Regions from separate parts of the Homo sapiens genome. Here region 1 is linked to region 2. The links are contacts of gene promoters, found by promoter capture Hi-C in blood cells and fetal thymus (Javierre and others, 2016). All regions are on one chromosome and are shown on one strand. Each heading gives the region's core, a stretch centred on a gene start or on the middle of the fragment in contact. The rest is flanking DNA. Distances are from core to core; before and after follow the strand shown.

What was found. Contacts are between HindIII fragments. The CHiCAGO score rates a contact against its expected background, and 5 or more counts as called.
Region 1: a contact is called between the fragment with the promoter of H1-4 here and the fragment with the promoter of H2BC11 in region 2, in 11 of 17 cell types (total B cells, total CD4 T cells, naive CD8 T cells and 8 more). The highest score is 28.5, in total B cells.

The regions. Positions count from the first base shown.
Region 1 is chr6:26,154,840-26,160,392 of GRCh38, forward strand. H1-4 (H1.4 linker histone, cluster member) reads left to right here and starts at 1,490. Exons shown (of 1, transcript NM_005321.3): 1 at 1,490-2,276. The coding sequence starts at 1,552. The coding sequence ends at 2,211. H2BC5 (H2B clustered histone 5) reads left to right here and starts at 3,283. Exons shown (of 1, transcript NM_021063.4): 1 at 3,283-3,768. The coding sequence starts at 3,331. The coding sequence ends at 3,711. It overlaps H2BC6-AS1 (H2BC6 antisense RNA 1), which reads right to left. Exons shown (of 3, transcript NR_186648.1): 3 at 5,435-5,553. RefSeq lists enhancers at 1,218-1,969, 1,494-1,653, 1,914-1,993, 2,723-3,474, 3,614-3,663 and silencers at 2,284-2,333, 4,662-4,956. The HindIII fragment of the contact is 19,818 bases long and covers 1-5,445 here.
Region 2 is chr6:27,129,632-27,135,081 of GRCh38, forward strand. It overlaps H2BC11 (H2B clustered histone 11), which reads right to left and starts at 3,164. Exons shown (of 1, transcript NM_021058.4): 1 at 2,685-3,164. The coding sequence starts at 3,119. The coding sequence ends at 2,739. It overlaps H2AC11 (H2A clustered histone 11), which reads left to right and starts at 3,412. Exons shown (of 1, transcript NM_021064.5): 1 at 3,412-3,904. The coding sequence starts at 3,441. The coding sequence ends at 3,833. RefSeq lists enhancers at 2,384-2,443, 2,784-2,853, 2,864-2,933, 3,065-3,578, 3,544-3,883 and 1 more. The HindIII fragment of the contact is 7,052 bases long and covers 1,692-5,450 here.

The DNA.
Region 1 (5,553 bases), core at 240-2,739, 980 kb before region 2:
CACCGCACCCGGCTAATTTTTTGTACTTTTAGTAGATACAGGGTTTCACCGTGTTAGCCAGGATGGTCTTGATCTCCTGACCTCGTGATCCGCCCGTCTCGGCCTCCCAAAGTGCTGGGATTACAGGCGTGAGCCACCGCGCCCGGACCAGAAATAATTCTTTTGGTTGGGCTTTCATTGCCAGCTTACATACACTCTTCTTGATTGGGCAACTACCTAAAGAAATTCACTCAGACATTGTTCAAAGGATGTTTTCAGAGGGCAATGATTTATAATAGCTTAGATAGACTCTCAAAGCTCTACTTCTGAGATCGAAATTTGAACTTGTCGTTTAATCACTACATGTCACTTATTTTTCTTTCTATTGAGCTCTGGGAAGCATTGGAATACAATCTTCAGGGGGATTGAAACCATACGTGGTGAGTGGACTAGTCATTCCTCAACTATTCAGTAATAATAGGGGCTGGGTTTCACTAATAATGGGAGTAGATGTTTCAATCTACGTTTCTTATTTATTTTGCCTTATCATCAATGCTTGAATTTCAGCTCTAAGCTACTTTATTGCAATTTGGTTCTGAAGCATATGCCAAAAGCACTCAGCAAGGCTGCAGACAAATGCTTTAAAGTAAAGTGCACCTCCACTTCCAGTGACTTTATGAACATCACATTTGAAAATTAATCCTTTTTCATCTCTGTACCCTGAGTACATTTTGGACTTCCCTTCGTTCCCAAATACCCTGAATTCAAGGTATCTCAATCCATGGAGCAATTGTCCAGAGGAAGAGAGAAGCAACAGCCCCGCCCCCAACCCTTGGGAGCAGAAAGGGAAAGAATTATCCAAAGAATTGTTTAAAAACTCAGATGTAGCGGACAGATGTAAAACCATGGCTGTATAGATTGATGTCCCAGGGGTCCAAAACTTAATCTCAAATGGGCAATAATTTGTTTGGCATTAAACTAAACCAGTTTGATGAACTCAAATGCCCTCGGCTCAATAGGCAGGACTCTCCGAGGAGCCTGTGTTACTTCCCTCACTTAAGTGCAGATTTGTAATAAAAATCTTAATGCCAGTGGCATGCTTTTTGGATATATAAGAAGCTAACCACTTGGAGTATCATATTTGAGAGGTCAGAAAAGTCCACAGTTAAAGATCGGTTTATAATTTACGAAGAAAATAGAAAGTTTTGTTTCTCTGAGTTGAAATTTGCCAAGCACGGCGGGAAATATTGCAAGTTTTTGGCACAAGGCTTTGTGCTTCCCTTATAATTTGAGATCTGCGTGAAGCCTGAGGGTTCGGGGATCATTATCTGAGAAAAACCGGGCAGTTCGGTGTAGACAATTTTTATATTTTTGGCTTTTTTTGAGGTGTAACAAACACAACTCGGGATCCGAGAGGACACTCTGCGGCTGCCAGCGAGGCGGGCTGGACAGCGCACCAATCACGGCGCAGCTCCGCCCTATATAAACGGGCGGGCGCAGCGCCGCGGCTCGAGTCCCGGCCAGTGCCTCTGCTTCCGGCTCGAATTGCTCTCGCTCACGCTTGCCTTCAACATGTCCGAGACTGCGCCTGCCGCGCCCGCTGCTCCGGCCCCTGCCGAGAAGACTCCCGTGAAGAAGAAGGCCCGCAAGTCTGCAGGTGCGGCCAAGCGCAAAGCGTCTGGGCCCCCGGTGTCCGAGCTCATTACTAAAGCTGTTGCCGCCTCCAAGGAGCGCAGCGGCGTATCTTTGGCCGCTCTCAAGAAAGCGCTGGCAGCCGCTGGCTATGACGTGGAGAAGAACAACAGCCGCATCAAGCTGGGTCTCAAGAGCCTGGTGAGCAAGGGCACCCTGGTGCAGACCAAGGGCACCGGCGCGTCGGGTTCCTTCAAACTCAACAAGAAGGCGGCCTCTGGGGAAGCCAAGCCTAAGGCTAAAAAGGCAGGCGCGGCCAAGGCCAAGAAGCCAGCAGGAGCGGCGAAGAAGCCCAAGAAGGCGACGGGGGCGGCCACCCCCAAGAAGAGCGCCAAGAAGACCCCAAAGAAGGCGAAGAAGCCGGCTGCAGCTGCTGGAGCCAAAAAAGCGAAAAGCCCGAAAAAGGCGAAAGCAGCCAAGCCAAAAAAGGCGCCCAAGAGCCCAGCGAAGGCCAAAGCAGTTAAACCCAAGGCGGCTAAACCAAAGACCGCCAAGCCCAAGGCAGCCAAGCCAAAGAAGGCGGCAGCCAAGAAAAAGTAGAAAGTTCCTTTGGCCAACTGCTTAGAAGCCCAACACAACCCAAAGGCTCTTTTCAGAGCCACCCACCGCTCTCAGTAAAAGAGCTGTTGCACTATTAGGGGGCGTGGCTCGGGAAAACGCTGCTAAGCAGGGGCGGGTCTCCCGGGAACAAAGTCGGGGAGAGGAGTGGGATTTTGTGTGTCTCCGGAGCTATTTTTGACTAAGGCGTCGCGTCGCCCAAGCCGGAGTGCAGTGGCGTCATCTCGATTTTGCGTTCTCGAGTGTCGGAGTTGAACCCATTTGGGCCTCCCTTGTGCTTTGCACTTTTAGCAGGCCCTGGCCTCCAGATAGCATGGGAAAAAAAATGTTGGGATTTTCCCGGGTTTCTAAGCTGGGTTTTTCCGAGTTCCAAACACGGCACAGTGTATCAGTTTCTGTGCTGGTTACAAGCCTACTGGTTATCCCTATCGAGTATGGCAGGCAGTGAGGGACTTCAGAGGAGTACGTCTTAGGACAAGTGGCATAGTACTGACATTATTTCCGAAGGGCTACATTTCAAGTGCTTGGGGAGACTACTGCCACATAACTGAAAATTAGAAACCGACACTGCAGAAAAATACTTGGTCCTTAAATGTGGCATTTGGATGGATTAAGGACTTGCCGAAACGTAAAACTGACAGACTTGGGGGGGGGGGATGTCCCAATTAGCACGGCTTCTGTATGCAACGAGTCCCATACTTTGTTAAAGGAAGAAAGGAATGTGAGTTCTCCTAATCTGTTAAGTATCTTTCGGTGTAAGTTCTGACACCACAATGTTAAAAAAGTCGGATCTCAAAAACCAACTGCTCCAAGCGAAGTGCACAGCTGTCTTGCCTAAAGAGGCCTATTTATAGTAGCCTCGGGTAGTCTGGTCTGGGCTTTCTCATTGGGTACAAGTAAAGGAACGAAATAGCCAATGAAAAGGTAGACTTTTAAGTGTCGTTTACATTGGCATTTGTGACGACACTCTAAAATTAATCCAATCATAAACGAAATCTGATTAACCTCATTTGAATACCGCATCTATAAATGAACAGGGCCTCGGCGGGAGTGATTATTTTCTCAGGTGTTTGCAACAGTGTTCTAACTATTAACGCTACGATGCCTGAACCTACCAAGTCTGCTCCTGCCCCAAAGAAGGGCTCCAAGAAGGCGGTGACTAAGGCTCAGAAGAAGGACGGGAAGAAGCGCAAGCGCAGCCGCAAGGAGAGCTATTCAGTGTATGTGTACAAGGTGCTGAAGCAGGTCCATCCCGACACCGGCATCTCTTCCAAGGCAATGGGGATCATGAATTCCTTCGTCAACGACATCTTCGAGCGCATCGCAGGCGAGGCTTCCCGCCTGGCGCATTACAACAAGCGCTCGACCATCACCTCCAGGGAGATCCAGACGGCCGTGCGCCTGCTGCTTCCGGGGGAGCTGGCCAAGCACGCCGTGTCGGAGGGCACCAAGGCCGTCACCAAGTACACCAGTTCCAAGTAACTTTGCCAAGTAAGCATCTTTACACCTAATCCCAAAGGCTCTTTTAAGAGCCACGCATGTTTTCAATAAATGAGTTGTAATCATTTCATTCAAAAGGGGGGTTATTGGACTTAGCACCACAGTACCAATCTTTAATGTTACGTTAGTACTGCAGAGGAAATAACTTGGAAGTTACAGGGAATAACAATAGGTACTAGAAATTGAGTGCTATGGGTACGTATTAGATCGTTAGCTCATTTAGTATCACATAACACTAGCATAAACTGAAAGTATTGTAAATGTACAGCTCTTTGGTTTCCGTGTGCAGATTTCCAAGTTGATCGTGATGTTGATCCGGGACTCGGTGTGGTGACGGCCCGCCCTGAGCACGAAAGTGCACGCTCTTGACAACTTCCTTATGTTTGGAGCTTTCTCCACCACCACCCCCGCCCATTTTCTTGTAAAATTTTTACCATGCAGATATGTAATAACTGCAAGTAAAGGCTGAAGACAATGTGAGCTGAACACGGAACTATTACAAAGGTTTCTGATTTGTTTTGTAATTGGGCCAGTTTCTGTCTGAAGCTCTTAAGCGAGTGGGGCAGGGAAAGGCGGATCCTAGGCGCTGAGGTGCAGGAAAAAGAAGCAGCTTCTGAGACACCTTAAAATTCTTTTGCTAAACCGTCTTTTTCTGAAAGTCATTTAATTTATAGGTTTTTTTTTTTTTTTTTTTTTTTTTTTTTGGCAGCTTTCAGGTTAAAAGTCCTCCGGGTAACGGCAGAAACCAAATAGTCAATCATTAAGGTGCCTGACTGCACGTAGGCAATAGTTATCGCAGGACTGAAGCCCCCTTTGCAGTACAATTTATCCTTTCCTAGATGCCCCTGAGTACGGAGGACTGGAGGAGGTAGAAAGGGAAAGAAAACCTCCTTCTGGCAGGATGTAGCTTCTGCTGCACAAGGTAGGATGATGACAAAAGGTTTTCACTGCTGGGGAATGGATGATTGCGGGAGAAAAAGAATCTCGGAAAAGAGTCGGGAGGGAACTAGGAGGGAGTGGCCAGAAGGAAAGGAACAAATACTTGAGACGTGAAAAATGTGAGATGGATGAGGCTAGGTTTGGAGTCAAATGTTGGCTGAGAGGGAGAATTTAAGTGATGGATGGATGATCATTGTCTAAAAGAGGAATGAATTTAGAAGTTTGTCCTCATGCCCTCATAAACAAACACGAAATGATGGATTATGGGATACATTTTCCATAACATGGCAAGCGTGGTACTTGGACGGATAAATAAAAGCCTGAGTAATATTTTCTAAATTCTTAAAAGTAAGAAAGAGGGTCTAAGAAAGTAAACTCAGAGCCAGGGACTTGGCCCATGTTAAACCCCAAGCACTACAGCTGGCTTTTACTCAACCCGTGGAAACTGACCAGGGTATAGAGCCTGATATATCTTCTTAGGTGAAGGTGAGACACCAGACCTAAATCTGTCATCTCAAGAGTAGAAGGATGAACCACACATACAAACCCATCACAGATGAATGCAAATAAAAAAGTCAGCTCCGAAGTTGGGTTCTGAGCAGTGTAGATTCTACTGCTAAGGCTTGGACTACAAGCCATCGATGCTTACTTGTTCCTGGCATTCATACCATAGGGATTCAAACACCCAAGCTGAGAATTTAATTTAGGCATATCCCAGGCTGGTTTTGTGCCCCTGAGCACCCGGTAGAAACAAATACAAGTCATCTCTGGAAAAGAAGCTTCATTTTACACCTCAACAAATTGCCACAGCTAAAATATCCCCCCAAAAATGCACAAGGAGCTTCACAATCTAAATTAAACATCATGAAACTAGAAGTATGACTA
Region 2 (5,450 bases), core at 1,914-4,413:
TAAACAATGACATTCAATACTCCAAATTGTGCTGAGTGGCAGCAATTCTTTTCCCTATTGCCATTTATGGACATACTTGAGTTACGGTTTCTAATACTACTGTTACAACCGGCATCAGTAGTATTAGCCAACATATATTGAATGCTTACTATGTACAGGACATTGTTCTAAGTATACCAAAACTATTTGCTCAAGAGGCACTGTTACATCCCCCTTTTTAAAATGAAGGAAAAAGCCAGAGGAAAAAAAAGGGAAAAAAGCCAATTCTTCAGGAACTGGTTAGTAATGGGTTGAACTTGCAGCATTCAGTTTTTCTTCTTTTTTTTTTTTTTTTTTTGAGACGGAGTCCCCTCTGTTGCCCAGGCTGGAATGCACTGACACGATCTCGGCTCACTGCAACCTATGCCTCCTGGGGTCAAGTGATTCTCCTGCCTCAGCCTCCCGAATAGCTGGGATTACAGGGTCCCACCAGCACATCAGGCTAATTTTTGTATTTTTAGTAGGGACGGGGTTTCACCATCCCCCAGGGGCAGGGGCTGCTCTCGATCTCCTGACCTCAAGTGATCTACCAGCCTTGGCCTCCCAAAGTTCTGGGATTACAGGCGTGAGCCACCCCGCCCAGTCCCATTCAGTTTTTCAAGCAAAGTATTAACTCTTTGTCCTTATTAAGGGGACACCAGCAAGATGAAAATAACCCATAAGGTGATCATTTGTTTCATTACCCCTTAGGCAGTTTAGTCTTCTGAGTAACAGGAGAATTAGCTGGGTTCTTTTCAACTTAACTTTGTATAGTTTTCGAAAACCTAGCCTTTACAAATTTTCACCTGTGGCTGGACAATATACCCATGAGTCAGTCGCAATCCTCCTTTTCTTACAAACCCTGCTTTTTATTCTGATTTCTATATCCTGTAAGACAAAGAAGCAAGTTATTTAGCTTGGAAATTATCATCTGACTATTTGGATTAATAGAGAGGGTCAGAGGCCCATGTAACATAACAATAATGTCATAAAAGTAATTTAAGTTCTGTTTATTCACAGAATTGATAACAGTTCAGTTATCCTTAGTACGGGATGATTATGGTGAAGGAAAAGAACTTGAGTGTATATTTTCTACATAGAAATATATACAACAAACCAGATAGCAATTCAGAGAGATACATATTTTAGAAACTCTACAGACAGTTTTCAAAGGCTGGACAAGTGTCCGAGAAAAAGCTAAAAAAACAGAAGAAATTTCATAAAGCAGGCAATATTTAACTGGGCTTTGAAAAAAACAGGACTTGAGTCAACAAGGGAAACGTGTGTATTTGATAGTGGATTTAACAAAAATACTAATTGTTTTAGATGTTATTACTGTGCTAAATTTAGATCCATTTTAAATAAACTAGATAGTAACTCAAGTTTATATACAATTACTACCTTTGAAACCAAAACCTAGTCATAGTGGGAGCTTCCAAATGCTTTATAGACCTTGGATTTTTACCTAAGAGACACATGACTGAAGTTACAACCTAGAGCAACATCGTTTGTTGGGTGACTGGTTCTCATTTGTGACAACCTGAATAAGGGGGAACTTGTTTTTCCTCACTTCTTCTAGGCAAAGTCAAAAACAGTATTTAAAATACTAACGAAAGGAGTTTTAAAATTGAAATTGACTTGTTTCAGAAAAGAGTCTGGGATAAATGTCCTCAAGCTTTCTGCCTTCATTACGCCCCGAATTGTCCTGTTTAGGCTTCTAATGCCTTTGCTTATATAGATATACCATAAAGGGAAAATAGTATTCTAATCAGAAATAAAGCATTGATCTTTCTCAGGCTGAAAACTACAGCATTCAAATTCCGTTGTAGCCGGGCTTGATGGCTCATGCCTGTAATCCTAGCACTTTAAGGCTGAGGCTAGTGGATCACCTGAAGTCAGTTCGAGACCAGCCTAGCCAACATGGTGAAACCCCATCTCTACTAAAAATACAAAAATTATCCGGGCATGGTGGCGCATGCCTGTAATCCCAGCTACACGGAAGGGTGAAGCAGGAGAATCGCTGGAACCCGGGAGGCGGAGGCTGCAGTGAGCTGAGATCGCGCCACCGCACTCCAGTCTGGGCGACAGAGGAAGTCTCCTTCTCAAAAAAAAAAAAACTGATTATGTTGCCATAAAGGGTCCCTTTAAAAAAAAAAACGCTCTATCCAACGAAAACTAATTAGAAATAAATCTCCTTCCCGAAAGCGATAAAATACTAAAGAATGAGAAACTGACAGTTTACTGAGTTTGTAAGGAAGGCCAAATAAAGGCGGGGTTTGGATTCCTTTGGCGCACCCAAGCCGACCGTGGACTTCCTGGATACAACAACCAATCAGGATGCAGAGGAAGGGCGGGCGTTGCCCGGGCAAATTCAAACTGACAACCGCTGCAACTTGGCACTGTTCCAAATCACTAACCGACGGGGGACCGACGAGTATTTTAATTGGTTTCTAACGTATTTTAATTGGTTTCGAACTTATAATAGAAAATTTCCCATCTCCTTACTTAACTCTAAGATTAGAATGGCAGATCTAAAAAAAAAAAGTCACTAAGGATTAGTTAAATAACTGCTCTACTTCAGACCAAAAAACACAGTAGCAAGTTACAAGGGTTTGTCAGTGGCCAGCAGAGGAGGAATACAAGCACCAGCTCTTTCTTTGAGAACATGGGTGGCTCTTAAAAGAGCCGTTAGGGTTGAGAGTTTGCAACCAACTCACTGTTTACTTAGCGCTGGTGTACTTGGTGACGGCCTTAGTACCCTCGGACACGGCGTGCTTGGCCAACTCCCCAGGCAGCAGCAGGCGCACGGCCGTCTGGATCTCCCTGGAGGTGATGGTCGAGCGCTTGTTGTAATGCGCCAGGCGGGAAGCCTCACCTGCGATGCGCTCGAAAATGTCGTTCACAAACGAATTCATGATGCCCATGGCCTTGGACGAAATGCCGGTGTCAGGGTGGACCTGCTTCAGAACCTTGTACACATAGATGGAATAGCTCTCCTTGCGGCTGCGCTTGCGCTTCTTGCCGTCTTTCTTCTGCGCCTTAGTCACCGCCTTCTTGGAGCCCTTTTTCGGGGCGGGAGCAGACTTCGCTGGCTCTGGCATAGCACTGTGTAGCTATAAAGCGCCAACGAAAAGGAAAAACAGCGTGAGCAGGGTATGACAAGGCGCTTTTATATAGAATCGCTTATGCAAATAAGGTGAAGAGTTGAAGTCTTGTGTCTGATTGGTAGTTATTCAGGGTAACGTCAGAGGTCAGGTCTGCCCAATCAGGATTCGCAAATCCAGAAGACGCACTACTATTGGTTGAAATTAAACTGCAGCCCTAACCAACAACACGTCTTCTTTTTCGCGCCCAATAGTGTTTATAAAAAGCGCCGCCTTTCCCGTTCACTTTGTGGTTGCTCGTAGTGAGTTGCGCTCGCTATGTCTGGACGTGGCAAGCAGGGAGGCAAAGCCCGCGCTAAGGCCAAGACTCGCTCTTCTAGGGCCGGTCTCCAGTTCCCCGTGGGCCGAGTGCACCGCCTGCTCCGCAAAGGCAACTATGCCGAGCGGGTCGGGGCCGGCGCGCCGGTGTATCTGGCAGCGGTGCTGGAGTACCTGACCGCCGAGATCCTGGAACTGGCGGGCAACGCGGCCCGCGACAACAAGAAGACCCGCATCATCCCGCGTCATCTCCAACTGGCCATCCGCAACGACGAGGAGCTCAACAAGCTGCTGGGCAAAGTCACCATCGCACAGGGCGGTGTCCTGCCCAACATTCAGGCCGTGCTACTGCCCAAAAAGACTGAGAGCCACCACAAGGCGAAGGGCAAGTAACTATCTGTACTAGTTTGTGGCAGCTCAAGTAAAATCGAGTCCAAACCAACGGCTCTTTTCAGGGCCACCCACGTCTTCTCTAAAAGAACTTAACATTTATTCCATGTGAAAGAAAGTGAGACATGGACAAGACTCTAGTCATAAATTACCCATCTTTTTGAAAACAGTGTAGCGAACACCGCAGATTTAAAAGAAAAACTAGAGGGAAGGTGGTCCAGATTTTACCACGCTTAAAAGTTAAGATGTGAACAAATCTCTTAGGCCATTACTTAATTTTAAACTTAATCAGTGTGTGTCCACAGAGCACCAGTGGCTTCGTGAGTTCTTGAAGCACTTTGGCCCAAAAGAGTTATCGCCCGGGCTAGAATTTAGCAGACAGCTGTTCCACGCGGGCCAGGGCGGCATGAAGAAGTCCCGCCGCTACGTGCCCGGCACAGTGGCCCTGCGCGACGTTCGGCGCTACCAGAACTCCGAGCTGCTGATCAGCAAGCTGCCGCTCCTGCGAGAGCTCGGCGGTGACGCCGCTGCACGAGAGCGAGGCTGAAGAACTTTGTGACACAATAGTCCACCTCCCTGCAAAGGCTCTGTCAGAGACTCACATCTTTCCTGATGGATAGCTGTGAAGCATTCTCTTACCCACCCTACTGCATGTTGCAAAGTATTCCTTTAAAATGAAGTGAGTAAAATACTGGGATGACGTTATCTGGAGCCCAAGAAAGATGGCTCATTTGGAAAGGCCTAATATCCCAAGTTGCTTACCTAGAAGAACTTGACAGGATAGTTAATAATAAACCTTAAAACCCATGAAGAAATCTGAGGTAAAGTGTTAGCACACAGACTGTTAAAATGTCTGCCTCACAGATAGGAGGGAAAATATATAGAGGATTATAATATGGTTCAACAAATGTTGATGAGTATTAGAAATGTACATTAGAAATATTAGAAATGTTTATGACTATTAGAAAAGTACAGGGTATTGGGCGTTCCTGACACAAACTGAGGCCTCCTAGCAAGACTGGCAGTTTTCTGTAAAGGAGGGTTATTTACTACGGTAGTGCAAATAACTTTTGGTGTTGTAGCTAAATAAGGAATACTCATGCCAAGATTGCACAATTGTGCCTCCTCCCTCTGTTCACTGAACTCTGATGTAATTTTTTTTTTTTTTTTGAGACGGAGTCTCGCTCTGTCGCCCAGGCTGGAGTGCAGTGGCGCTATCTCGGCTCACTGCAAGCTCCGCCTCCCGGGTTCACGCCATTCTCCTGCCTCAGCCTCCTGAGTAGCTGGGGCTACAGGCGTCTGCCACCATGCCCAGCTACTTTTTTGTATTTTTAGTAGATACGGGGTTTCACCGTGTTAGCCAGGATGGTCTTGATGTCCTGACCTCGTGATCCACCGGCCTCGGCCTCCCAAAGTGCTGGGATTACCGGCGTAAGCCACCACGCCCGGCCCACTCTGAAGTAATCTTAAGAAGACGTTAACTCATTTTTCTTGTGTATTGTAGACACTTTTGGCTGTCTGGTAACATGGAAAATCTCAGAATGATGTTTTAAGTATATAAAATGCCAAACAAAGTTAAATTACAGTTATCAAAGTATTTTTAAAACTTCATAGTGATAA